Regions from separate parts of the Homo sapiens genome. Here region 1 is linked to region 2. Evidence: promoter capture Hi-C in 16 types of primary human blood cells and fetal thymus (Javierre and others, 2016). All regions are on one chromosome and are shown on one strand. The core of a region is centred on a gene start or on the middle of the fragment in contact, and the rest is flanking DNA. Distances in the headings are between cores, read along the strand shown. Region 1 overlaps ELOVL6 (ELOVL fatty acid elongase 6). Region 2 holds the start of HADH (hydroxyacyl-CoA dehydrogenase).

What was found. The method cuts DNA at HindIII sites, captures the fragments that hold promoters and counts their contacts. A CHiCAGO score of 5 or more calls a contact.
Region 1: a fragment that was not itself captured here is called in contact with the fragment with the promoter of HADH in region 2 in 1 of 17 cell types (total B cells); the score reaches 5.0 in total B cells.

What each region holds. Positions count from the first base shown.
Region 1 is chr4:110,192,901-110,198,566 of GRCh38, reverse strand. It overlaps ELOVL6 (ELOVL fatty acid elongase 6), which reads left to right. Exons shown (of 4, transcript NM_024090.3): 1 at 1-320. The coding sequence starts at 232. Among named protein-coding and RNA genes, the nearest start is that of ELOVL6, 2.9 kb to the left of the region's middle. RefSeq lists enhancers at 1-371, 1,960-2,254 and silencers at 1,286-1,915, 2,116-2,225. The HindIII fragment of the contact is 1,138 bases long and covers 3,605-4,742 here.
Region 2 is chr4:107,986,303-107,992,273 of GRCh38, reverse strand. HADH (hydroxyacyl-CoA dehydrogenase) reads right to left here and starts at 2,385. Exons shown (of 8, transcript NM_005327.7): 1 at 2,210-2,385. The coding sequence starts at 2,341. RefSeq lists a silencer at 2,389-2,618. The HindIII fragment of the contact is 11,946 bases long and covers 1-5,971 here.

The DNA of each region.
Region 1 (5,666 bases), core at 2,924-5,423, 2.2 Mb before region 2:
GGAGGAGGAGAGCCCCAGAGAGAGGAGCTGGGAGCGGAGGCGCAGGCAATGCTCAGCCCTGGATGTAGCTGAGAGGCTGGGAGAAGAGACGACCGCTGGAGACCGAGCGGCGTGGGGAAGACCTAGGGGGGTGGGTGGGGGAAGCAGACAGGAGAACACTCGAAATCAAGCGCTTTACAGATTATTTTATTTTGTATAGAGAACACGTAGCGACTCCGAAGATCAGCCCCAATGAACATGTCAGTGTTGACTTTACAAGAATATGAATTCGAAAAGCAGTTCAACGAGAATGAAGCCATCCAATGGATGCAGGAAAACTGGTACGTGATGCTTTCGCCTGATACTGTTCCCGGGAGCCCTGCGCGTCTTCCCGGAGTGCCTTAATGTCGGTATTCCCTGCCTGGGCGTGAATGGAGCGATGAATCGCGGGCAGCCAGCTGATCGCTGAGTTCTCGGGTCTCCCGGGTGCAGGAGACGCTGGGGGGGGGGGGGTACATGAAGCGCGAGGTCTGTGGGTGCCCCTGTGTGAACCGCGGCTACATAGGCATCTTTTATATAGATTATATAACACAGAACATATGTGTGTGCACAGGGTGATGTCTGCGCGACAGGGAAGGCGGGAGAGATGCCACAGTCCAGATCGCCTACCTGTGCTCCCCTCCCCTCCCCCGGTTTTCATCTAGATTTGGGTTTTCTCGCTTGGCCTCTCCCGCAACCGGAGTGTGAAAGGCAGTGGAGGGAGGACCTTGTCTCCTGTTGCCTTTAACCCTCTCCCGCCCGCCGCCCTTGGCCCTGGTCCTCGCTGTCTCTCCATCCCTCGTGTCCTTCCTTTCTCCTTGCAGCGCTCCTACTTCACCGTCCTCCTCTGTCTGCCGCTCCTCAGGCGGATGCCCCCTTTTTAGTACCCCTTTCCCCACGCGGTTCCCTTTCCGGTTTCATAGAGAGACCGGGTGGGAGGGAGGAGGGGACAATGAAAACAGTAATAAATGAATGAACCCGAGCGAGTGGAGCCACGCCATTATTAAGTTTCTGTTTTACGGAAACGCCTTTTGGACACACTTCTAATTCTGTGCGTAGCTGCTGATTGGAGTTCAGGCACACAGATTAAAAGCCCCTCCGTCTGCAGAGTCCTTAGGGGCTCTTCCCTAGGAAACTAATAATCAGGGAAAACACCTTTCTTGTTTACTGTAGTCCCCCCGCCAGACCTTTTGAAAATCCCTGTGTGGGAGGCGATCCAGTGTCACCTTGCAATATTTAACAGAGGAGGGTGTGCTCATCTCGCTTCTTGTAGACAGGGTTGTGGCAGAGGCATTCCTCTCCTCCCCTTAACTTCGGGTCTGGCGATCTGTAAAGTTCAAGCCCAACGCACCCCGGAGCTAGGCAAGGGGCCGGCAGCCCGGGGGATGGCTTGACCGGGGAGGGTCGGGCCGCAGGGTCTCCCGGGAGCCGGGGGATTCCGCCCGCCGCGTGCGCGAGCGCGCGTGCCCCGCGCCCTCCCGCCTGCCCTCTTCAACTGGAAACCAGAAACGCCGGCGCGCCTGTGGCCTGGGCGGGTTGGTGCAGTAGGAGCTGGTGCCACGGGGCCGCAGCTGCGAAAAGGGGGTTTCAACTTCCTGTCCTCCAGCCCCCTGGAGTCGCCGGCCAGTGTCGGGAGGCCCGGCCGCCGCTTCCTTCTCCTCCCGCCCGGCCGGAGCGCGCCCACTCCCAGCTTCCCGCGGGCTGGTCCGGGCCCCAATGGCCATTTGCGGCGGCTGCCGGGCGGAGCCCGCCTCCTGGGCCGCGCGCACCGGCGGGGCAGGCCTGCTTGGGGTGAGCTGCGGCGTGGCTGGTGGCGGCGGTGGGCTAGGGGCCCAAGGGCCGCGTCTGGCCCGAGCCGGAGCCTAAGAGGCGGGGACGCGGGCCGCTCGGAAGGACTGGAAGTGCAGCAGCCACACAGGCACAGGGCTGGTGCCCTCCCGGGCCGCTGAGGCCAGGGGGTGCAGGGGTGGGTCCGGAAGGAGGTTGGACACTAAGGGTCGAGACCGCAGATAGACCTCGGCGTTTCGGGGCAGCCGAGGCCCCTCGAGCCCCACCGCCCGGGGTCCTTCTCTGGATGCACTTCCTCCTCCCGCTTAGGGGGTGGTGCTGGAGGCGGGGAGGGGGCGGTGGCCGGAGCCGGCGGGCGCCGGAACCGCGCTGCTGGCTAGCCCCGGGCCCGGGTCTTCTCCGCACATGTTTGTCATATCCTCCAGCCGGCCTGTTCGGGCCCACAGTCCTCCCGCATTAGCCTGTGTGGTCAGTGTGGTCAGCATTTGCTTCTGTGCCGAATCTCTGACTTGCTGCGTCCTGGTTTAACCTGCTCTTCCGGAGTCCGCTTTCCCTCGCTTTGCTGGCTGACCCCATTCACTGTACGCCCGCCATTCCTAGCCCACTGCAGTCGATACTGCCTCTTATTTACTTGTTGCTTTTTCTCTGAGGCCACTTCCTAGGCCTGCTTCAGGTACCATTTCCCGCCTCTTCTCTCCATTCACTCAGTACTGAGCCAGACAGGTCTCAGCCCTCGTGGGACTGAAAATGACAAAAATGTGCCAACGTATCTACTCCTGTTAGGTTCTGACCACTGTTTCCTCCTAGTTCTTTATCTGTACCTTTCTTCTGGCAATATCCTTTACTGTTATATACATGGTTATTAACTTACAGACCATCAGCTCTTCAGGTTACGGTTCTTGTCATCCCACTCTTGATTCTGCAAAGCACCTAGCAGAGTGCTTTGCATAAGGCACATTCTTGAGAAAATGTCCAGTGAGTTGAAATGGTGATTGGTGCCCATTTTATTGCCAGCACTACTCGTTAATACCCGAAGGTTAACAGGCTAGAACTTGCATACCGTGGCAGAGTCACATCTTGGGATTTTTCCCTTCCTGGCTTCTGCTCTCTGTTGATGTTATGTTCTTAGATTGCTTATTGCAGTCAAAGAACCCTGCTGGCTGTTACCCCTCCCTTGCAACTCTTCCTGACCCTAATTGTCTTACTTTCATGTTTTTTTTTAAATGCCAGATTTTGTGCATTTCTCCCAATATCCCAGGGTGCCCAATTTTATCTCTCCTCCCTCCCCAAAAACTGTACAGCCAAAAAGACTTTAAACACTTTTTAAAATTTAATTTTATTAGCCGGGTGTGGTGGCTCCTGCCTGTAATCCCAGCACTTTGGGAGGCTGAGGTGGGTGGATTACCTGACGACAGGAGTTCGAGACCAGCCAGGCCAATATGGTGAAACCCCATCTCTACTAAAAATACAAAAAAATTAGCCGAGCGTGGTGGCGGGTGCCTGTAATCCCAGCTACTCGGGAGGTTGAGGCAGGAGAATTGCTTGAACCCGGGAGGTTCAAATTAAAGCTTTTAGTTTTTATTTTTAATAGAATCCAGCTAATGCAGGACAAAAAGTCTTGAACCAGATTTTCTTTTCACTCCCTTTTTAATAGGAGAAGGGAACTCCATAACCAAGGCTTAGACCCTCTTGAGGAGAGAGGAACTTGAGGAAACCATAAAATCTTACCTTTTTCAGACTCATTAACTTAAAATGGTTTGAAATAGCTTCTGGAGGAAAAACATGATATAGTGAAGCTTCTACTCTGTCTTTTGGGAATTTATGGTTGTCCTTATAAATCTCTTCTTAGTAACAGGCAAAACTTGTTAATTTAGAGAATTAAAACATCCTCTCTCAAAAGTGAACTACATTGGCTTTTGAAGAACTGTGAGAATGGCCAGGAGTAGTATTTTGCCAGTATGCTGCCTTTGCTAACTAGCATCATTTAAGAGGACCTAAAATAAGAATACTTTATTAAACATACGCTATAATCCATACTTACTAACCATAGCGCAAATTAATGTTAACATACCCTATAATCCATACTTACTAACCATAGCACGTGTTAATGGAATGGGGCCCGACTTTTGGAGTAGCATTTGTATAAACCCTAAAGGGTTCAACTGAGGCTAGTTTTCAAGTTTATTGCTGCTTTAATGAATCATTAACCTCATACTCATTGGCCTAGCCATGAAAGTAAATACTGCAGACTTTTTTTACTTTGCTAGCAAAAAGTTTCATATATAATAGGTTAGAATAGCAATTGAAATGCAAAGTAATAAGTGTATTCCCTTGTAGAATCATCCTGGGCCTCATCTTGAAACTACATGTCCAGTGAAAAATATCCTGTCTGGTTATATTATCTGGTCAATGAGAGTTTATTACATGAGGTAGAGAAAAATGTCTGCTCATAGGTCCAAATAGGAGTTTTGAATTCTAATTTTCACTGAAAAGTCCTTGCAATTTTACAACATTGAAAATAGAGACATTTTGCTCTTTTATGAGATGTCTGGCCTTTACCTGTTTTTCTCACTAAGAGCTGACTTAAGTTGGAAGTGCTGCTAGCCAGGGAGCAAAATCACCTGGTGATTGCTAAGGCGACATATAATTCATTGAGTGAGAAGGGAAGCTGGGCTCTCTCTGCCTTCTCTTTCAGCAGCCTGCCAGGTTTGTGCTAACAGCAGTGGATGCTAGTTGCTCCAGTTGTAATTGTCTAGCCAATGATGATTATCTTCTGATGTCGGCTGACACGGTGCCCACCAATAGGAAAGCAGGAGGCCTGTGCTGACTGCTGTAACATTATGTATGTGAGGTGACGTCTTCAAAGGGCTTGCCTAGAACTTCATGAAACCCTCCCCCTCTCCTGGCATTCTCCACACATCCAGCCTTTCAAAGCTTTATATATTTTTCTGACTTTTCTCCCCACTCACTCCCTTGGTGGTGTAAAAGGGTTTACTTGTTTTAACATTTTGTATTCTGTATTATAGAGTCTATAAGATAGTATAGGAATTTTAAGAATTAAATGCTGTTCAGCTGAGGAAGCCTTTTTATTCACAAATTTGTTTTTACCAAAGGTAAAAATGGAGTGAAACATTTTATTTTATTTTGTTTTATTTTTGAGACAGGGTCTCACTCTGTTGCCCAGGCTGGAGTGCAGTGGCACAATCTTGGCTCACTGCAACCTCTGCCTCCGGGTTCCAGTGATTCTTATGTCTCAACCTCCCAAGCAGCTGGGATTACAGGTGCCTGCCATGACACCAAGCTAATTTTTGTATTTTTAGTAGAGATGGGAATTCACCGTGTTGGTCAGGTTGGTCTTGAACTCCTGACCTCAAGTAATCCGCCCACCTCGGCCTCCGAAAGTGCTGAGATAACAGGCTTGAGCCACTGCAACCGGCCGTGAAACATTTTAAAAGGAGTTGTACATCTATATCTTTTTTGTAGGTGAAGTTTGGAAAGTAACACGATGTACAATTTCATGATTAAAGAACATAAAAAGCACTAAAAACCTGTGTTAGCATTTAACTCAAATATAGCAGCATAAAAAATATAGCAGCATAATGTTAATGAAACTGTTCAAATGCAGACATAGTATTTGGCTGTTGTTTTTCATTTAGTGAGGATTGCTTTGAATTGCTTCCTGAAGTCTTCCTTGCAACCTTCTACATTCATTTGTAAGAAAAATGGCTGGAAAACAGTGCATCTGTGACTATGGAACAGAGTAGGCCAGAGTTTCATTTCATCATTAACATTGCAGCAACAAATTTGGTCAGCTCTGTAGGAATATAGTGTGTCTATATTGTACTCATGTCACTTGCTGT
Region 2 (5,971 bases), core at 1,136-3,635:
TTTCTGGTCTTTATAACCTTTCAGAATGACAGTTCCATTATGTGTCCAGCCTATGGCATAAATAGCTTTTTTTTCCCTTAAGTTTCAAAAGGCACTCCCTGGTCCACCTATTTAAGAGTTTGATTGACAAGCACAAGCCTGTGTTCTCCATTAATGTCAATCATTTCTCCTTACTCCTTTGTCAGGTGAAAGCTCCAACACCATACCTGTAATTTTAGGTATTGCCCCTCTGCCTTTTAATGCAACACAACATCCATTTTTGGCCAATGATGGATGCAGCATTCAAAGAACTAAGCACTCTGATTTTCTACAAAAGTTGAAGTGACGCTTTCTACTTAGTTTCTAATCTTTTTCCACTGCTGTCTTCAAGGACACCAGCCACAAGTTTCTGGATCCATTTCCCATAATGTTCCTGGAGGCTGCTTAAGGCCCTAATATTTTGTTACTAAGATGTTGTTAAAATGTTTCTAAAAAACACATTGTTCTATTCCTGCTCACAACAAATCTCACTCTCACAGCCTTGGGAGATTTGGGTGGAGCCTGGGAATACAAACGTACTCAAACTAAACTTTCTCTTGAGTATAACCTGTGGAACTTTTAGGTTAAAGGGAGTTACTCCTCCCAGTCCACATACAACATAGATTATGGGGATACTATAACCTAGCAGCCAGGGGATCCACACAATAAAAAGGGCAATGTATGTCCAAAATTATGGTCTCAGAGGAAATGGGAGACTGTAAGAAGTCATATAAATAAAACATTACAGGGATATAGCTTTTAGAAGAAAATGCAATCAAATAAAAACGTTGTAAAAAACTTGCCAAGGAGAAGAAAATTGAGATATATAATACCTAATAGTAAAAGGTTTTTTTGTTTTTGTTTTTAAAAAGCAAGCATGAAAGCGTGGACTTGGTTGGAAACAAGACATTGAAAAAGTAAACTCTCTCATGACTGTAGCCACAGTAGTACTGTCCCCAAGAAAAATTAGATGACTATAACCGCCTTCCCCAACAAACCAAGTTGCAAAGGACTGAAATGCTAAGAATATAATCAGCTAGGATACGAAAACCATGGTTCTCCAATGTGAGCTGAAATGGAATAATTTTTAAAAAAAAAAAGTACAAGCATTACAGTAGCCAGGTAATCAATCACTCGCACAACTGAGCCTGAACCACAGCTCAGCAGAACAATGGAAAAGCCCTGAAGATGTACAATGGATAAAAGACTTGTTCCGGCTGGGTGCAGTGGCTAACGCCTGTAATCCCAGCACTTCGGGAGGCCAGGCGGGCGGATCACCTTTGGTCAGGAGTTCGAGATCAGCCTGACCCACAAGGTGAAACCCTGTCTCTACTAAAAATATAAAATTAGCCGGGCGGGGCGCCTGTAATCCCAGCTACTCGGGAGGCTGAGGCAGGAGAATCGCTTGAACCCGGGAGGCGGAGGTTGCAGTGAACCGAGATCGCGCCATTGCACTCCACTCCAGCCTGGGTCAAAGAGACTCCGACTCAAAAAAAAAAAAAAAAAAAAAAAGAGAGAGACTTATTCCGCTGCAGCGCCAAAATCGCAAGCTCAGAACTCTGCACAGACGGCACTATTTCAAAGGTCAAAACCAGGACCTCAGCAATCTTCCATTAGGTGACTTTACAAAGTGCTACAAAAGTCATGACTACTACTATTCTTTACAACCTAGCAAGCGAAGGAAAGACCGGGGAGAGCCGGGAGGCCGTTTAGGAGAGAAAACTACTTTGACAAAGACTGCACAATTACAGAATAAAAATCAAAAATAACTGATAGAATTAAAACTGATCGCAGTTCATGTCTTTGGCAGCAAACTCCCGTTTGAGCCGAGCAGGAACAAACGCGTTATGCCTGAACCTTGTGCACATACAATTCTTTCTTCTCTTGCACGGCCCGCTTCCAAAATGCATTCACCGCCACTCTCCATGGAACCTTCAGCGGGCCCTGGGGGCAGCCAGAATTTTCCAAACGAGGAAGCTGAGGATCGGCCCAGAACCCTGAATTTTGAGGGGAGTGAGACTTGGGCCCTCACAGGCCCAGACGCGAGATATTTCAACTACACCCGGGAGGCGCGGGGTGAAAACTCCCTGGTGTCGGGCGGGTGCAGGCCCCTCGCGGCCGGTCGCGCCAGAGCTTCCACCTCAGGGTGGGCGGCCAAGCGCGTGGGCACGCTGCAGGGAGGGCCGCTCACCTGGGCAATGCCGGCGCCCATCAGCCCGCCGCCGATGACCGTCACGTGCTTGACGATTATCTTCTTGGCCGAGGCCGAGGCGGTGGACGAGGAGGACACGGAACGCATGAACTGCCTGGTGACGAAGGCCATGGTGTGGCAGCGGCGGCGACAGCGAGGAGACCCGGGCAGGGAAGACGCGCGAGGCGGGCAGCCGCGGAAAGCCAGACTCTGGGGGCGGGGACCTACGCGGCCCTGCAGCCCGCGCGCCCCCGGCGTCCCCGTGACGCCACAAGGCGGGGGCGGGGCCTCGAGTCCCGCTCTGCCCATTGGCCCTGGCTGTAACGTCCCAGCGTTGAGCGGGTATACACGCGCGGGCTCGCAGCTGTCAGCAGCCGGAGCCCGAGTGAGCGCGGGCTTGAGACCTGCTGAGCAGCGGGACCTGGCGGCTGGCGTTCTGGTGTGGGGCCGAGAACAGACCCTTCTTCTGAAAAGCCACTGGCCCCTTGTTCTATGAAGTGAGTGGTGTTGACTCTGTAAAATGCTATCCTTTGATGACATGTGCATATCTAGGCTCTGAAGAAATATGTGCTGCTTGGCTGTGTTGGTAATGGACCCAAAATGTGCACCGTTGGTTGATGTCACCAAATAATCAACTCGGGATTATTTTAATCCCGTGGACAGTGATTGTTTCCCCTAAAAGGGAAATAAATGTAGACTGCGAACACCCAAAACAAATGTCTAGTGACCATGAGTTACAATGCAAAAATCAGGCTCAGGGAAGGTAAAGAGAGAGTTGACCTTTAGTTACCCATCTTGACGTTGGACGTCTATCAGTGCAGTGAACATGTGGACGGTTTAAGGTCATAGAGCAACCTTTCTGGAATAACGAATACTATTAGAAAGCATAGGAAAGAAATGTCTTGTCAAATAATGGAAGACTGGATAGCAGCTTGGCCAATCTTCTCACTCAGGTGAATACTTTCTAATTACTGTAACTTAGTGATATAGGATTCTTATTAATTTATTTGCTTTATGTTTAAATATTGTTAACAAAAAAACTTCAAACAAGTTTAGCAGAGTTTATCTGAGCAAAGAAAGCATGAATCATGTAGTATCCTGAGCCAGTAAAGGTTCAGAGAGCTCCAGCCCCTAACAGTGGGCAAGCCGCGTTTATAGACAATATTTTTTGCAGCCTGTAATGGGCTAAAAGCTCCGCTGCGGTGATTGGCCAAGACTTGGCCACTTGTTAGAAGAACGTACTCTCAAATTACATTGCAGTTTATTTACATATTAGGTTTGATTATGCTTTGCTAGGTAGGGAGGCAACTTTAGGCCAGATTTAATTTAATAACAGTTTCCTCCTTTGGGTCAGCCTCTCAGTTTTACGAGATTGACCAGAACCTTGTTTTGTCTCAGTATGGAAGTCACAATGTCAAATTAGTTGAGTGATTATACTTTCTTCATGTTGTTATTCTAACTGTAATAACACCATTTGGTGTACAAAGGATGGCTGCATAGAGACATTGAAGACTCTCGAGGGGACAACAACACATCAGGGAGACTATTATGGCCACGAGAAGGAGTATAGCAATAAACTGAGGTACACACCTTAACAGGAGTCTCCACAAACTGAACTGATCAAAATTAAACAATTCAAAGTTCAGGCAATAAAGATAGTTCAAAGTATTTGAGTCCAATTGGTCATGGTCTAATTTAGGGCATTATGGCGGTTAAGGACTGCTAGAAATGCTTATTTCTTGGTGCCGTAAAGAAATAGCACTTGAACATAAAATTAATTTCTTTAGCAAGGCCATTTTTACTTTCTGCGGAAAGAGTACACTCGCCAGCAGTTTTGCCACAAGAGTACACCGAACAAAGGAGGCAGGGTCATTTATAACCTGACCCGTCCACCTTACTGTTGTGACTGGTTTCCATTGGCTAGAACGGGACTTCACATTCTGTATTTGTCTTGATTGGCTAGCAACTTAGAAATTCTTAAAAGAGGCAAAGGCAGAGGAGAACAAAGGAAGGAGGAAGTAACTTGTGGAATGCTGAGAAGGGAAAAACACCTCTAAATAAGGAAGAGGAACAGGCTATGACCTAATGCCCACTTGGACCAGTATAAGCATGCCAGGGCAAATATTTAGGCTAAATTGTGGGAGCTAAGAACATAAAGTACATTGATTTCTTTATTACAGCTAGCAGATATTTAAGAATGTTAACAGGTCTTTGAATAAATTTTGCTTCTAAGAGAGGTTACTATTTATTCCTAATCAGATGAGGAGGAAAGTCTTTGAAAAGGAACCTCTACTTTACTTTTTACAAGGACCATAGTTCACTGAATGACCTGATTCAGCCTTATGGCCTGATTTAAAGAGGTATCCATTTTTGTAATTAGCCTGGTAACACAAGTTATAATAACCTGGAGAGCCACTAAAGAAGCATAAAGATTAGAAAAGTTTGGAATAGCCTAGCTTGCCTTTCACTACTCAGGATGCCTACAAACCAACCATTAGCTGCTCCCATAAATGTATCATGTGTTCCTTTCCCCTGAGAAGTTTCCTTAATATATTCAGTGGCAGTGTTTAGAGAAACAGCAGTATCTGCCACCTTTTAAATTAAGTTTTCTATAGTAGTAAAATTAGAGGAAAAATAAGTGCAACATTCAGTTTTATTCAGCACCATGCAAGAGCCCCCAGCATGAGCAAAGAGGAGATCCAAAGTTGTGTAATGTTCCATGAAGTGTGTTTGTTGAACACAAATGTTTTGATCCACTGAGAATATTTGAGTAGCTTCTACCATGTGAACCCCTAGGAGGTCTGACTGGCTACAAATTCAAGATTTTCCCCAATTTATAGATTAGTTTCAAATTCCATACAACAGGCACCCTGCTAATGCCAAGAGTGAGTTCCAGCACCTCCATTGGAACCTTTCCTCAGTAGAAACTAACTTGTCTTCATTTATTTTTAGGTTGGTGCTTACTTTGGTTATTGACTGCTTTAACCTCTGATTATGAAAGGTATTATGGGAACTTTCAGGGAAGGCTATTGGGATGTAGGAGCGAGCCAGGCCAAATAGCAAGATCTGAACCAGTGAGGAAACAACAGAGAAGGCAGGTCAGATTATCCACCAACCCAATGTAGGCCCTTGGGGGCTTGAAAAGAGGGCCACTTAGTGGTGTTTGAGCCGAGGTCAGTTAAATTTGTCCACCCACAAGTTGGCATAGCTCCTGAATAAAATCCAGTGGTGAACTTACTCTTCTGTGGTCCCTATATAGCATGTTGTAAGGGTGCAAACCACTGGATCTAGTAAAAAGACTTTGCTAGATTTAATCCAGTGAAATCACACAAGCAATTATTTGTACCCACATAGGTAGTCCCCAACGTCTTAAGTATGCAATGCCCGGAAGCACAAGATACCTTTTGCAGGCATCATTCTGATAGTTTTTTTTTTTTACTTTTATGTACAATTGACAAATAATAATTGTACATATTTATGGGGTACAGTGTGATGTCTCAATGCATGTATATGTTGAACAATGATCAAATCAGGATAATTATTAAATAATATGTCACTTTAAGCATTTATCATTTCTTTTTGGGGATAACATTCAAAATCATCTCTTCTAGCTATCTTGAAATATACAATACATTATTATTAGCTGTAGTCATTCTACTGTGTAATAGAATAGCAGCTTTTATTCTTCCTGTCTAACTGTAACTTTGCACCCATTGACCAATCCCCTCTATCCAGATTTTTTATATTTGGTAACAGTTTGGT